3 separate regions of the Homo sapiens genome follow, and regions 1 and 2 are each linked to region 3. The links are contacts of gene promoters, found by promoter capture Hi-C in human tissues and cell types (Jung and others, 2019). All regions are on one chromosome and are shown on one strand. Each heading gives the region's core, a stretch centred on a gene start or on the middle of the fragment in contact. The rest is flanking DNA. Distances are from core to core; before and after follow the strand shown.

Region 1 (4,509 bases), core at 111-2,610, 1.2 Mb after region 3:
AGCAAGCTGGCTGGTCAGTCCCCCACCCCAATATGTCTCCCAGGACGCTTACCCCCAGATCCCACCCAACCCAGGGGAATTGAAAGAAGCAGGGTGGGGAGACCAGAGACTTGGGTCCCTCTGGTGGGCTGGAGTCAAGGGGGCATGGTTGGTGGGGTTGGAAGGACCAAGAGCTCAGATCCCACAACTTGCTCAACAACTGCCTTCCCCAGAGCGCGTGCGGGACTCCTGGAAGGAAGATGCCTTATTTGGGTACCAGTTTCTTAATGGCGCCAACCCCGTGGTGCTGAGGCGCTCTGCTCACCTTCCTGCTCGCCTAGTGTTCCCTCCAGGCATGGAGGAACTGCAGGCCCAGCTGGAGAAGGAGCTGGAGGTATGGACATCAGAGCCCTGAGGAAGCTCAGCAGTGAAGTGGGGTGGCCTAGTGCCAATGATGCTGCTGCGGGACCCACTGTGGGCCTGGCTTGCTGCCAGCCAGCAAGGACGGATTCTGCAGGAGAGGTCCTGAGGGACCCTGGAGAAGCTCAGCTGCTCGGCCTCCTTCCCACACGAGAGTAGCTGTGGAGGGAGGGCGTGCAAGATGGAATGGTTGATAGAAACAGGGTCAAATGAAGAAATGTGACTGGCCCCTGGTGCTAGGGATTCGGGGAGTGTGCAGAGTAAGAGAGTCAGGATCAGAGTGCTGTGGCTGTTCATCAGGAGGCGATATGGAACAACAGAGAGGAAATTCATGGGATTAAGGGCAGATAGGCTTGGATGTGAATCCTGGTTCTGCTATTTGTAAGCTGTGTGACCTCAGGCAAAATACCCAGCCTCTCTGATTATCTGTTTCCTCTTCTGTGCAACTGAGGCTCGTTCAACTAGGTATAAAAATTATAAGGCTGGGCACAGTGGCTTGCACCTGTAATTCCAGCACTTTGGGAGGTCGAGGCAGGAGGATCACCTGAGCCCAATAGTTGGAGACCAGCCTAGGCAACGTGGTGAAACCCTGCCTCTACAAAAATACAAAAATTAGCACCTGTAACTTTTGGTGTAGTGGCATGCACCTGTAGTCCCAGCTATTTGGGAGGCTGAGGTGGGAGGATCACCTGGGCCCAAGGAAGTCAAGGCTGCAGTGAGCCATGGTGGTCCCGCCATGGCACTCCAGCCTGGGCAACAGAGTAATACCCTGGCTCAAAAAATAAACAATGATATGAGGCAATAAGCACATGATCCATTACCTGGTACAAAGTAGGTGATGGAGACAAGTTAGCTTCTCTCTCTCTCTCTCTCTCTCTCTCTCTCTCTCTCTCCTCTCTCTCTCTCTCTTCCCCCTTGGAGGAATCCGAGTGGGAAGAAGATGCTTTATGTTGATAGCAGCCTTTGACCTCTTCCTGCACCCAGGGAGGCACATTGTTCGAAGCTGACTTCTCCCTGCTGGATGGGATCAAGGCCAACGTCAGTCTCTGTAGCCAGCAGCACCTGGCTGCCCCTCTGGTCATGCTGAAACTGCAGCCTGATGGGAAACTCTTGCCCATGGTCATCCAGGTGAGAGGACTCAGGATTTCTGCTCCCAGTCTCCAGCCTTCTCAGCTCAGCCCCTTATCGAAATGCACTAAGCACCATCTTCAAAGGCGCTGGGCTAAGGCACCAGGGAGACGCGAAAGGAGGAAATGCGCCAAGTCTCTATTCGAAGGCCTTGCAATGTAGCTGGAGAGACACATAGGGCTAGTCTGCAGAAGCTCCGGGACTGAGGAAGTCCCGGAGGACAGAGACAGCCCAGGAGGGATCGGGGAGTTGGGATGTCACCAGCCTTGGAGGAGGGCCAGGTCTCAGACAAGCAGGAGGGAGAGGAAGGACCAGTCCTCAGGGGCAAGACAGACTGGGCAGAGGCTAAGGTAGAGGAGTCAGGAGATTCCTAGGGGACAGTTGGACTGGGGCCAGACTAAGCCAGGCTAAGGAGCATGAAGTGGGAAGCTGGAGAAGGCTGTGATGAAACATGCTATAGGCACGCGGTGTGGGCAGTGGTGTTTAGGGTGGGTTGGAGAGGGGAGATGCTAGAAACAGGGACTGGGGCAACATGCCCCAGCACTGACCCCAGGAGGAGGGGAGCTCGGATATGGGTAGTGACCGTCGGGATGGAGAGGACCGGTGGATGCGAGTGCAGAGGGAGATGAAGGAGAGGGGAAAGGGGAGCCAGGCCAGGTGCCTGCAGAAATAGCACCAATAAAGAGAACAGGGTGCCCAGGTAGACTTTTGTCTGGCCAATGTTGAGGTAACGGGAAGACATTTAAATTGTCCAGCAGGCAGCTGAGAACAAGAGATTCAGTCATTTGTGTAGAGGTGGGGCCAAAAGATGAGATTTCGAAAAACAGTGTGGGATGGAGGAAGCAGGTGGTTTGAATCTTGTCCACAATGCGGGGACTGAAAGGGGAAGTGGAGGCTGGAGGAGGCACCAGAAGAGCAGTTTCTGCAGAATGCTGGAGGCAAAGCAGCTTGCAGGGTGCTAATGCACTGAGCTGGTAGGAAGGGGAGGGGAGGAAATGGGAGCTGTAGGGAGAGGCAGGAGTGGGATGGGGAAAGCAGAACAGGTTTGGAGGACGAGGTTAACATGCAAGGGGGGCGGGAATCGCTGAGTGCCGGGCACTCATGCCTTCTCTCCCCACACTTGTCCCTGCTCCAGCTCCAGCTGCCCAGCACAGGATCCCCACCACCTCCCCTTTTCCTGCCCACGGATCCCCCAGTGGTCTGGCTTCTGGCCCAATGCTGGGTGCGCAGCTCTGACTTCCAGCTCCGTGAGCTGCAGTCTCATCTTCTGAGGGGACACTTGATGGCTCAGGTCATTGTTGTGGCCACCATGAGGTGCCTGCCGTCGATACATCCTATCTTCAAGGTAACACCTTATCCCCTTCTCTCCTGTATTCAGCTGAATACTTGATGGGGACCTTTGTTTCTCTAGAGTTCTCTTTCTGTACAACACCCTCAATTTCAGCATGCTGCCCTGTGAATTCTGGCTGTATTGGCCTCCCAGTACTGCCAGCTCTCTCTGTCCCCTTAACTCAGGAAGATGATAGGACTCTGCCAGGGTTGCTCCTCCCTACTCTGCAGCTGGAAAGCTTTCTCCAGGCAGTAAGCTGGGGCAATTGTGGGGCCCACTTGTGTCTGTTTCTTCAGTTATTTCAGGCAAGAGGGTAAATCCAGTTCCTTACTTCACTCCAGCTGGAGGTCTCCTCCTCATTATTTTATATACGTTTTGTGGAAGATTAACTTTACAATTTAGTTTTTAGGTAACAGAATATTCAGACAGGACTGCGACTCCATTCATGGAGTAATTATCGTAGCTCAGAGATGAATATTATTACTCTCTCCCAGAGACGGATGCAGTGACTTTTGGGACTTTGTGTGTCTCTTTTCTCAAGGAGAGACTAATAGCATCTTTATTTCTATGAAGAATAGTTGCATTGTGTTAGATAGAAAAGAATATTTTATTTTATTTTATTTTATTTTATTTTATTTTATTTTATTTTATTTTATTTTATTTTATTTTTGAGACAGTCTCACTCTGTCAGCCAGGCTGGAGTGCAGTGGCACAACCTTGGCTCACTGCAACCTCTGTCTCCCAGGCTCAAGCAATTGTCCTACCTCAGCCTCCCAAGTAGTTGGGATTACAGGCGTGTGCTACCATGTCTTGAACTCCTGACCTCAGGTAATCTGCCTGCCTCAGCCTCCCAAAGTGCTGGGATTACAGGTGTGAGCCACCACGCCTGGCCCATTTTTTCTTTTGAGTATGGAAGTTTAAATATAAATGCTGATTAACCAATAGAACTGACTGTGGGAGTTAGGCTTCGCCCTTGGCTCCAACCCTCTACCTTCTAAAGTCAGCTTCCTGTCTAAGGCTAGGTCTCTGCAAACCATATTCCTGCCTTCTTACCTGGCTCCATGTCGAGCTCACACCAGTAACTAATTCACCCTGGTAGCAGATGTTCCTTCCCTTAGTGGCAGCTGAATCCACGTTGCAACTTTCTAATGTTTGAAAAAGCTGCTTTATTGCATCCCTGCTCAGAATACCAGCACCAGCCAACTGGCACCCCTTATCAAAAGTCTGAGTTTCAGATCTCCAGGGTCCCTCCTCCAAGTTTCTGAAGTTTTAATAATTCCAGGTTCTGTTCTTTCCTGTCTACTGGTAGGGTAGAGCATCCTTTCATACGCTTATTACCCCTGTGGGTTTCTTTTTCTGTGACTTCTCTATTCATATCTTTGCTCGTTTTGCTTCTTTCACGTCTTTTTCTTACTTGAGTCCTTTAAATATTCTGAAGACAAATTCTCACTTATTTGCATTGCAACCATATTCTCAAAGTTTTTGGCTTGCCCCCATCCTTTAATTTTTTTTTTAATTTCAGAAGACAGTTTCTCAGCTTTCACCATGTGCCTTTATCTTTCCTGGTTTCCATCTCTGATTTTATTTTATAATGGCAACAATGTGTTTCTGTCTTAATAAAGTGGTCCACCAGGATTGCTATCCCAGTGGTT
Region 2 (4,406 bases), core at 751-3,250, 1.1 Mb after region 3:
TTGATGCTCAGAGCAGGGCAGTTTTTCCACCTGTCACTGGAACAAATTCCCACAGACTCTCAGCCCAGGGACCAAAGGACCCACAGGCTAAGGCAGAGGGACTGAGACTGGCACCCCCATTTGGTAAGGGGGTGACCTATCAGGGCAGTGACAGAGAGAGTCCTTCGAGTCCAATAGACCTGGCTGTGAGTCCAGGCTCTGCCCAGACCCTCTAAGCCACCTTGAGGCTGCTATTTCTCTGAGTATCTGTTTCTAGATGTTTTAAAAGTGGGAGAGTCGCATTTCCTCCCTCCCAGGATCACGGTACAGTAAAGAGCTTAGCACTCTGCCTAATACATAGAACAAGCAGCAAATGTTCACTGCCGTTGCGATGACAGTGCCCTGGCAGGTGACCTGTGCTCAAGGCGTCCCAGTGCACACACACACTCACACACACACAGGGTAGGGCAGCAGATGGGACACACGCCCTGCCACAGGCCATTTTAAGGAGTCGGGGTGGGTGAGGACCCAGGCACGGTGGAGGAAAGAGGGAGGCAAGAAGCCTTTTTCAGCTTCCTTGGTGTCATCTCACAGTGCCTCCCTCAGGAGGGGAAAAGGGAGGGGAGTGAGAAGGCTGTTTAGCTGTGTTCCATACTGGCTGTGCCTCACACAACCGGCCCCACCCCGACAGGACTCCTTGGGGACAGAACGGGAGTGCATTCTCAGGCACCTAAATCTTACAGGCTCAGTGCCTGCACAGGGAGACGGGTCCGCAGCCCAGGGTCCCGGGCAGCTTTCGGGCTTGGGGGTGGATTGACACACAGCCCGATGGTATTCACACCCATTCCTTCACTGTCGCGCCCGGTCCTGGGGGACGGCATGGCACCAGCCAACGTCACGGGTTGGGTGTGAGTTCATGGTAGATTCTCACACGCCAGCCTCACAAGAGGCACTGCCGAGACCAGGCTTGCTGCCGCCTACTGTATGGCCGGCCCTGTGGGCACAGCTGTCCTCCACCCGCCTCCCAAGGCACCATCGGGCCCAGAATGTGCCCGATGAGTCACGGGCCTGGGTCTCCCCAGCATGGGCGCAGCAGGGGGGCTGAGTCCGCCTGAGCCCCGGTGCCCAGCTCAGGGTCTGGCACAGAGCAGATGCTAGTGAATGAACGTCGGGCTGGATGAATGAACGAATGACTAATGCCCGCTCCCTCAAACCACAGGCTACACCGTCTGAGCCTGGGGGAGGGCAGAGCCCACGGGACCCCAGAAGAGGCCTCCGCAGCTGAGGCTTTGCGTCCCAGGGTCGATGGGGGAGGGGGCGGGGCGGCCAGCAGCCGGCGCGGCACGGGGCTCCCCTCCTTCCCGAGAAGGAATCTGGGTCTCTGGACTGAGCTGGTGACGGGGGCTGGGGCGGGGGGTTGTGGCGTCCTGGATGGAGAGAGCTGCAGGAGCAGGGGGCGCGTCCCGGTTTGCGTTGGGGTGTGGGACGAAGCGGCGGCCGCGGGACATCCCCTTCGGTGGCGAAGCCCGGGTCTGCCCGGGGCCTCCGCGGGGTGCAGAGGGCTCCCAACGGCGGGACTGGCCCGGGGCGCCGCAGACCTGGCCCTTTCCGGCGGGGCCGTGGAGAAGGGGACGCGGTGTCCCCCGAGGTGACCGGGGGCGCAGGAAGGACGGGGGGCGCGCGGAGCCCCCTCTCCACGCGCGGGAGGTCCAGCCCCGCTACCGCCCCCTACGCCCTCCCGGGACCTCCGCCCACCTGCGCGAGGGGTTCACCTGGGCCGGCGGCCCCTCCTCTAGACGCGCGAGTCCCTCCCCCGGGCCCCGGCCCTGCCCTCCCCGCGCCCGCCCTCACCTGCACGGCCCGCCTTGGCCATGTCCCGGGCGGCGGGCTCCGGCGGCGCTACGCGCGCTCCTCGCGCTTCCCGGGCCCGGCCCCGACCGCCTCCGGCCCCGAACGGACTCCGAGCGCCGCGCCCGCGCCCCCGCCCCGCTCGCCTCGGCTGCCGCCACCGCAGCCGCCGCCGCCTCGCCGCTCCCTCCCGCTCCCTTAAAGGCGCCGAGCGGCGGCCGCGCCCCCCCCCCACCCCACCCCCCGCGCCGCCGGGGAGGGACTGACGAAGGAAGGCGCCCAACGCCGCCCCCGCGGGCCCGCACCCCCGCCCCGGGCCGTGGCCGCCGCGCTCCAGCCCGCTCCGCTCCGGCCCGCGCGGCCACCGCAGCGCGCGAGGGGCGGCAGCCCAGGGGCTCAGAGACGCGGAGACAGCCCGAGACACTGCGGGCCAGAGACGGGGCCCTGGACTGGGAGAGGGGCGCACAGACTATTAGACAGCGCTGGAGAGAGACGCTCCTAGGGCCAGAACGCCGAGGTGGAGGGAGAGAGAGAGAAATTCAGAGGAGACCAGAGACCCAGAGCCCGGCTCCGGCTCCGGGAGAGACGGACAGAGGGAGCGGAGAGAGGAAGGAGGACAGGGATCCAAGGGAGGCCCCCACGAAGTCAAGAGGAAAGTCGCTCTGGGATCAGAGACAAGAGAGGGACCCCCTCCATCAGCCCCCGCTCCAGGGGTTCTGGATCATTTATGGCGTCTGACCTAACCTCAAAAGAGAAAGGATTCCCGTGATTTTAACCCTCAAGGGATAAGTAAAACACTTGCACATCCACCTGGGGTTCTAGGCTGGAGCAGGCTTTGTGGACCCCAGCGGCCTGGTGGTGAGCAGTACCCGCCTTCCACTTCCTAAATCGGGATGCAGAGATTCTAGTGGACAGGCCTTGTGGTCCGGGGAGATATGGGTTATGACTTCTGTTTAGGGGCAGCAGGGATCCACAGTCCAGCCCCAAAAGAGAGCAGGAGATGGCCAATTGTATTTGGCGGTGCCTGAGAGGTAACAACCCTCCACTGAGAGGGTGCCCTGCCTCCCCCAGGAATTGGTAAGGCTGAAGCCCAGTTACCATCTGTAGAGCCAGGCACCCAACCCACCCTGTCCCACTCCACTTAACAGGGAAAAGGTCAACTGGAGAATTCCATCCATGGTCCAGGCTCCAGGGTCCTGCAAGCTCCTCTATGGAAACAGGGCACACATGGGGTTAGATGGGGGCTCTCAGTCCAGTGCCTTCTCTGGGGCTTTGACTCCATTCACAAGATTCCTGCTAAGCAGTCCTCCAGCTCCTGGTTGGTTACCTCCAAGGACAGGAAGCTCAGTATCTTAAGTGAGAGTTCTTCCTTTTATTAATTTTTTTTTTTTTTTTTTGGCTAGTGCTGGCCTTAAGAATGTTCTTACTCGTTTGAGCTGAAATCTACAACCCGCATGTCCCATCCATGAGTTCTGCTCTGCCTTCCGACACCTCACCCAACAAAACCAGGGCTTCCCAAGGCCTTCTACCCAAACTCCCTAGTATGGATTCACCCAGGGAGAACAACCATCCACGTTTGCCAGAGCTCACCTCCCAGGAAACCCATGAGTCCCAAGAGCTCTGGATCCCAGAGCCAGATGACAGCACCAACTCCAACAGATGTAGAATTTCAGAAGCTCTGGGCTCCTGAATCCAACGCTGTTCACCAGCACCTGCCATTGGTCACCAGCTGGGAGAGCAGGAATGGACCCTGCAGCCTTTCCCCACTATGAGAATGGGACTGGGGATGAGAATAACAAGGACTATTGATTGAACAGGCGGTATTTACCCTCATGTACTCTCTCAGCTACATTGCGTTATCCTCAGCATACACATAACGAAGTGGGGGCTAAGAAAGTTCGGTGCTTGTGGTCATGGAGGATCAATTTCAGGCCCCTGTGCTTTGTCTACTGGGCCTCACTGGCCTCACCCTTCCCTGAGGTGTTTCAGAGGCCTGATAGCCTGGACAATGTCCAGGCTTGGCCACCTGGTCTGTAGGTGTGAGTGGTCACGCAGGAGACAGAACGCTGGCTGCAGAAGAAGCAATGCGCCTGCCACAGAGGGGACACGCCTGGGCCTGAGCTCCTCCCCAGCCCTGGCTCACAGTAGCAGCAGTGACCAGAGGGCATCAAGGGCCCTCCTGCTTCTGGGCACAGCTTCACGTTGTGTTTGTGTGTGTGCCTGGGTATGTGTGCATGGGGTGTATGTGTGTGTGCTTGTGTGTGCTTAGGGATGCATGCATGGGTGTGTGTAGGCACACTCGTACACACAAACACAGGCAAACACCTGCTGACAGATGCTCCCTGGGTGGGCACCCAGACCCCTTCCCCTCCCACCACTTAGTCCTCACAAACCCTAAACTAGTCACCCAGAAGGGCCTGGGTGGAGCGGTTAAGGGGAGGTGCCAAGTTGATGGGAGTTTCAGAACTCATCTCTCCAGACCACTCCACACCCCATTTCTCAGATGGGAAGACAGTAAGCCAGATCTGTCCCCTGAAAACCACGACTCAGAGGCCCAGATCCATGGTTCCCCTCTTTAA
Region 3 (5,041 bases), core at 1,994-4,493:
AAGAGTAGTATACTAAACATGCTTAAGAACCACTAGTCTTGAACAATTTTCTGTATATATAATAAATTATACAGATAAATAGTATACAACTTACCTACAATTCACTGTTGATTTTCCACCTTCAAATTCAGAATTCTTCCCCCATCTTTTAGGTAATTCTAATACCATAAGTCCTTTTATTCCTATAAGTGCTACATGATGTTGTGTTGGGCTTAACAAGACTTGATAGATTTCAAACAGGGGTGGATTTATGCAAAGCAATCTCTGAAAATTAGAGCAAACCAGTCAACATAGTTAATTTTAATTTAAATATAGGTGGCAGTTACTTGAAATCACAGTAATACTTAGTTTACTACAATTATAGGATAATAAAACTCTGGATAAGTACTCACACTTGTACCATTAACTCACAAATTTTTTTTTTTTTTTTTGAGACAGAGTCTTGCTGTCACCCAGGCTGGAGTGCAGTGGCAGCCCACTGCAGACTTTACTATGGGGGTTCAAGTGTCCTCCCCACCTCAGCTTCCAGAGGAGCTGGGACTACAGGTGTGCACCATCACTCCCAGCTAATTAAAAAGGTTTTTTTTGTAGAGATGGGGGTTTCGTCATGTTGCCCAGGCTGGTCTGAACACCTGTTCCCGTGCTCACAAGATCCACCTGCCTCCACCTTGGCCTCCTAAAGTGCTGATTATAGGCTACAGCTACCACACCCAGCTTACTCATGCTTGCTTTTAACATCCAAAGTTACAACTCATGATAAGCTGCTTTCTTCCCCATCTCTAAGGTTTTGAGATTTTGGAGGAGTGAAGGTTATTGAGATAGTCACCAATATTTACTGAAAGCTTATAAATTCTGGGCACTCCAGCATTTCTGTATGCTGGACATACAAAAATAAGTAAATAGCCAGGCGTGGTGGCACATGCCTGTAGTCCCAGCTACTTCCAGGCGCTGAGGTGGGAGGATCACTCGACCCCTGACAGTAGAGGCTCCAATGAGCCGTGATCACACCACTGCACTCCAGCCTGGGCAACAGAGAAAGACCCCATTTCAAAAATAAAAAATAAAATACGTTTTTAAAAAATGACAAGGGCAGACCCAGCCCCTGCCTTGGAGCTTACAGTCTAGAAAAGAAGACAGAGGCAGAGTGCCATGGCTCACGGCTGAAATGCCAGCACTTTGGGAGGCCAAGACGGGTGGATCACCTGAGGCCAGGAGTTCCAGATCAGCCTGGTTAACATGGTGAAACCCCGTCTCCACTAAAAATACAAAAAGTAGCCGGGTACGGTGGAGTGGGCCTGTAATCCCAACTACTCAAGAGGCTGAGGCAGGAGAATCGCTTGAATCCATGAGGTGGAGGTTGCAGTTAGCTGAGATTGCACCACTGCACTCCAGCCTGGGCAACAGAGCGAGATCCTGCCTCAAAACAAAACAAAACAAAAACAGCCGGGCGCAGTGGCTCACGCCTGTAATCCCAACACTTTGGGAGGCCAAAGCCAGCAGATCACGAGGTCAGGAGTTCAAGACCAGCCTGGCCAACATGGCGAAACCCCGTCTCTACTAAAAACACAAAAATTAGTCGGGCGTGGTGGCAGATACCTGTAATCCCAGCTACTCGCGGGGGGGGCTGAGGCAGAAGAATCGCTTGAAACTGGAAGGTGGAGGTTGCGGTGAGCCGAGATGGCGCCATTGCACTCCAGCCTGGGCAACAAGAGCGAAACTCCATCTCAAAAAAAAAAAAAAGACACAAAATAATTATAAATAATTAAGTTATGATTATGTCAAATGCTACACAGCAGTATAGAATGTTATTAGAATACTGCGTGCTGCACATTTGGTAATTATTATTATTTTTTGAGACACAGTCTTGCTCTGTTGCCCAGGCTGTAGTGCAGGGGCGTGATCTCAGCTCACTGCAACCTCCTCCTCCCAGGTTCAAGCGATTCTCCTGCCTCAGGCACCTGAGTAGCTGGGATTACAAGGGCGCGCCACTACACCTGGCTAATTTTTGTATTTTTAGTAGAGACGGGGTTTCACCATGTTGGCCAGGCTGGTCTCGAATTCCTGACTTCAGGTGATCCACCTGCCTCTGCCTCCCAGTGTTGGGACTGCAGGCGTGAGCCACCGCGCCCGGCCTTCATAATTCTTTTTAACTGAAATTGGGTAAATAAGTAGACTGTAGACTCCTGCCCTATTTTCAAAACTGCAGAAGCATTGCTAGCGTCTTATTAAAATTAAATCACTTCTCGGTAACAAGAATTGGACCGGGCACACAACAGATGTCATACCTTAGAATGAGTACCAAGCTCTTTTTCATCTTTAAGAGAATCTGTGTATTACAAATAAACATTTCCATAAACCAATATTTGACCACGGCAAGTGTGTAATACTTTCTGGATCACACCCATTTTCACATGCTGTCGGCTAATCAAAAACAAAAATCCCCATTTTGGGTATGGCTTTATTTTCTAAAGCGGGCGTTACGGGGGTAAGAATTAACAGAGACTTCCTCCTCCATGTCAAGCATGAAGCGTGGTGCTTTGAAACCTGCAACCTGACTTGCTGTGCACAACGCAAGAGAAAGTTACGATCTAACCTATTATAAGCGTCACATCAGGAAACAGGTTTCTCTCGACGAAACTAAAAATAGCAACTCCGCCCACTCGTTCTCAACCCCTTTAGCCCGCTTTGTTTTTCTCCAGAGCACTCATCCGTCACTAGTATTTTTATTGAATATTCAATGACCCTTTCCTTCCTCCCAGGCCTCCAGGCCGTAAGCATCGAGAGAGCCTGAGTCCCCGCGACCGCGTATGGCAGCGTCGGAGTCAATCCGCTGGAACGCCTGCCACAAGATGAAAAACAGCCAAGAGGAGCAAGGAACAAAAAAGACTGGTTCCGATCCCGGTGAGGGTCACTTCCAAGATCGGCCTGGCATTACCTGGTACTGGGACAGGGCGGGCTCTTCGCCGCCGCCGCTGGGGCCCCGAAGGCGAACGACTAAGAAGGAGCTGTCTTCTCCGTCCCACAGGAAAAGCTCTCCGCCGAGGCCAAAGACCACGTTTCTCGTCAGCAACTGCGGCGGCGGCGACGAAGGCAACGACGAAGAAGCTGGTTTCTCAGCTTCGGTTGGACTCTGGTTTTTCAGTCCCTCCCGGAGCCGCAAGAACACGACGTGGTTAGGAAGCCAGGTCTGCCACAGCTCGCCGTCGCCCACCGGTCCCTCGGCGGCCGCCATCTTGGCCCAACTGCTCCCCTCACTCCAGTTGCTCAGCCCGCCGCTGAGCACAGCCAATCCGCGGCCGTCCACTCACTGTTTCGGCCAATCACCGAGCAGACGGCCCGGAAGCTCGAGAGGCTCGTGCCAGGTCGGGGGGCGAAGGCGAGGCCAGCCCACCAAGCAGGGGCGTCACCAAGGGAAAGCCAATCACCATTATTTCTGAAGCCCAAGGGGGCGGGACGAGAAGTCAACATAATGGTGGTGCTGCTGGAAATCTAGCACCTGGGGAGAGCCTGAGACTTGTGTATCTAATTGCCTATTGGACACCTCCATCTGGGTAAACCCAGGCATCCAGAACTTTCCCTCAAGACTTACCTCCCTCAGTGCAGGTCGGGCTGGCCTCACGCATTTCGCTTGGATGCCTAAATCTGTCTCCACGTGGGGCCGGTCGATAAAACAACACTTCCCAGAATACGCTGCGATCCATTCGCGGTCTGCACCCGGAAAGTACACCTCCCAGGGGTCTGTGCGCGCCTCCAGGGAACGGGTCTTGTGGCTTTGTCTCCCGCGAAGAGGAGATGGCGGAGTCGTTGAGGTCTCCGCGCCGCTCCCTGTACAAACTGGTGGGCTCGCCGCCTTGGAAAGAGGCTTTCCGGCAGGTGGGTATGGGGTTTGTGCAGTGGTCTACCCTAGATCGTCCCGGTGACCGCCGTCTTCCCTGCCTTCGCCTTAGCCCTGCTCCGTGGAGCAGGTGCCGCAGCGCGCCTGGTCTGGTCAAACCCAGGCCTGCTGACTGTAGAGTGTGGGATTAGCCCGGGTCGGTCAAGTCCTAGAAAGCCTTGTTTTTGGATTCGATTTTGTTTTGAATTTAAATTGTGGTCAGGACATCACCGTTTGCACCTCTGCAATAACACTACCTACTGTTGCTGCGGAGGTGGCCACCGAGAGAGGCACTTTGTCTACGTTCGTCTTGTGAGATAGAGATGATTTCTATTCTAGAGAGTAGTAAAATGAGGCTTAGAAGAGGGCTCCACCTCAGTTCTGGCCTCTTCTGAACACAGTGTGGTTATTAGTAAGTAATGTCCAAGAAAGTAACCCGACGCAAGAAAGATAGCAGATACAGCAGAGTTTCTCAGCCTTGACAATGGACATTTTGAGGGAGATATTTATATGTTGTGGAGGGTTGTTTAAGCCACGTCTCGGGCCTCCACCCACTAGATGCTAATAGTCCTATAACTAGAATTGTGACAACCAGAAATGTCTCCAAGCATTGCCAAATGTTCCTTGGGGGACAAAACCTCCCTGAGTTCAGAAACGCTGCTGTGCAGGAAGGCCGTTACCCAGCCATATCTAGAGTAGCAAGAATTTGGAAGGAATATAAATGTTCTGTAATAGGACATTGGATGCTGAGATATTATGCACACAACCATTAAGGAAACTGGCAAGCTAGAATAAAAAATATGGTTCTTTGTAAATACGTGTACAAAGCATTGTAATTTTATGTATCTCTACAGAGGAATATGCAAAAGTAACACTAGTTAGTATTATCATTGAAATTTTGTGTCTATAAACTTTCTTTAATGTTTTCTCAACTAATGTAAGAGTGTTTTTTAAAAATAGAAATGCTTTTTTTTTCCCCCCCAATCTTGCTCTTTTTTCCCAGAGATGCCTGGAGAGAATGAGAAACAGCCGGGACAGGCTCCTAAACAGGTACCGCCAGGCTGGAAGCAGTGGGCCAGGGAATTCTCAGAACAGCTTTCTAGTTCAAGAGGTGATGGAAGAAGAGTGGAATGCTTTGCAGTCAGTGGAGAATTGTCCAGAAGACTT

What was found. The method cuts DNA at HindIII sites, captures the fragments that hold promoters and counts their contacts. A contact is called where the count stands out against the background at its distance.
Region 1: a fragment that was not itself captured here is called in contact with the fragment with the promoter of NUP88 in region 3 in 1 of the 25 tissues and cell types used here (dorsolateral prefrontal cortex).
Region 2: the fragment with the promoter of PITPNM3 here is called in contact with the fragment with the promoter of NUP88 in region 3 in 1 of the 25 tissues and cell types used here (bladder).

Annotation. Positions count from the first base shown.
Region 1 is chr17:6,658,542-6,663,050 of GRCh38, forward strand. It overlaps the pseudogene ALOX15P1. Among named protein-coding and RNA genes, the nearest start is that of MIR4520-1, 5.3 kb to the left of the region's middle. The HindIII fragment of the contact is 8,121 bases long and covers 1-4,509 here.
Region 2 is chr17:6,554,555-6,558,960 of GRCh38, forward strand. PITPNM3 (PITPNM family member 3) reads right to left here and starts at 2,001. Exons shown (of 20, transcript NM_031220.4): 1 at 1,831-2,001. The coding sequence starts at 1,852. RefSeq lists an enhancer at 266-912. The HindIII fragment of the contact is 12,560 bases long and covers 1-4,406 here.
Region 3 is chr17:5,416,419-5,421,459 of GRCh38, forward strand. It overlaps NUP88 (nucleoporin 88), which reads right to left and starts at 3,244. Exons shown (of 17, transcript NM_002532.6): 1 at 2,936-3,244; 2 at 95-264. The coding sequence starts at 3,232. It overlaps RPAIN (RPA interacting protein), which reads left to right and starts at 3,764. Exons shown (of 7, transcript NM_001033002.4): 1 at 3,764-3,873; 2 at 4,878-5,041. The coding sequence starts at 3,793. RefSeq lists enhancers at 2,606-3,245, 2,881-3,418, 3,419-3,956, 3,686-3,805, 3,816-4,035. The HindIII fragment of the contact is 11,956 bases long and covers 1-5,041 here.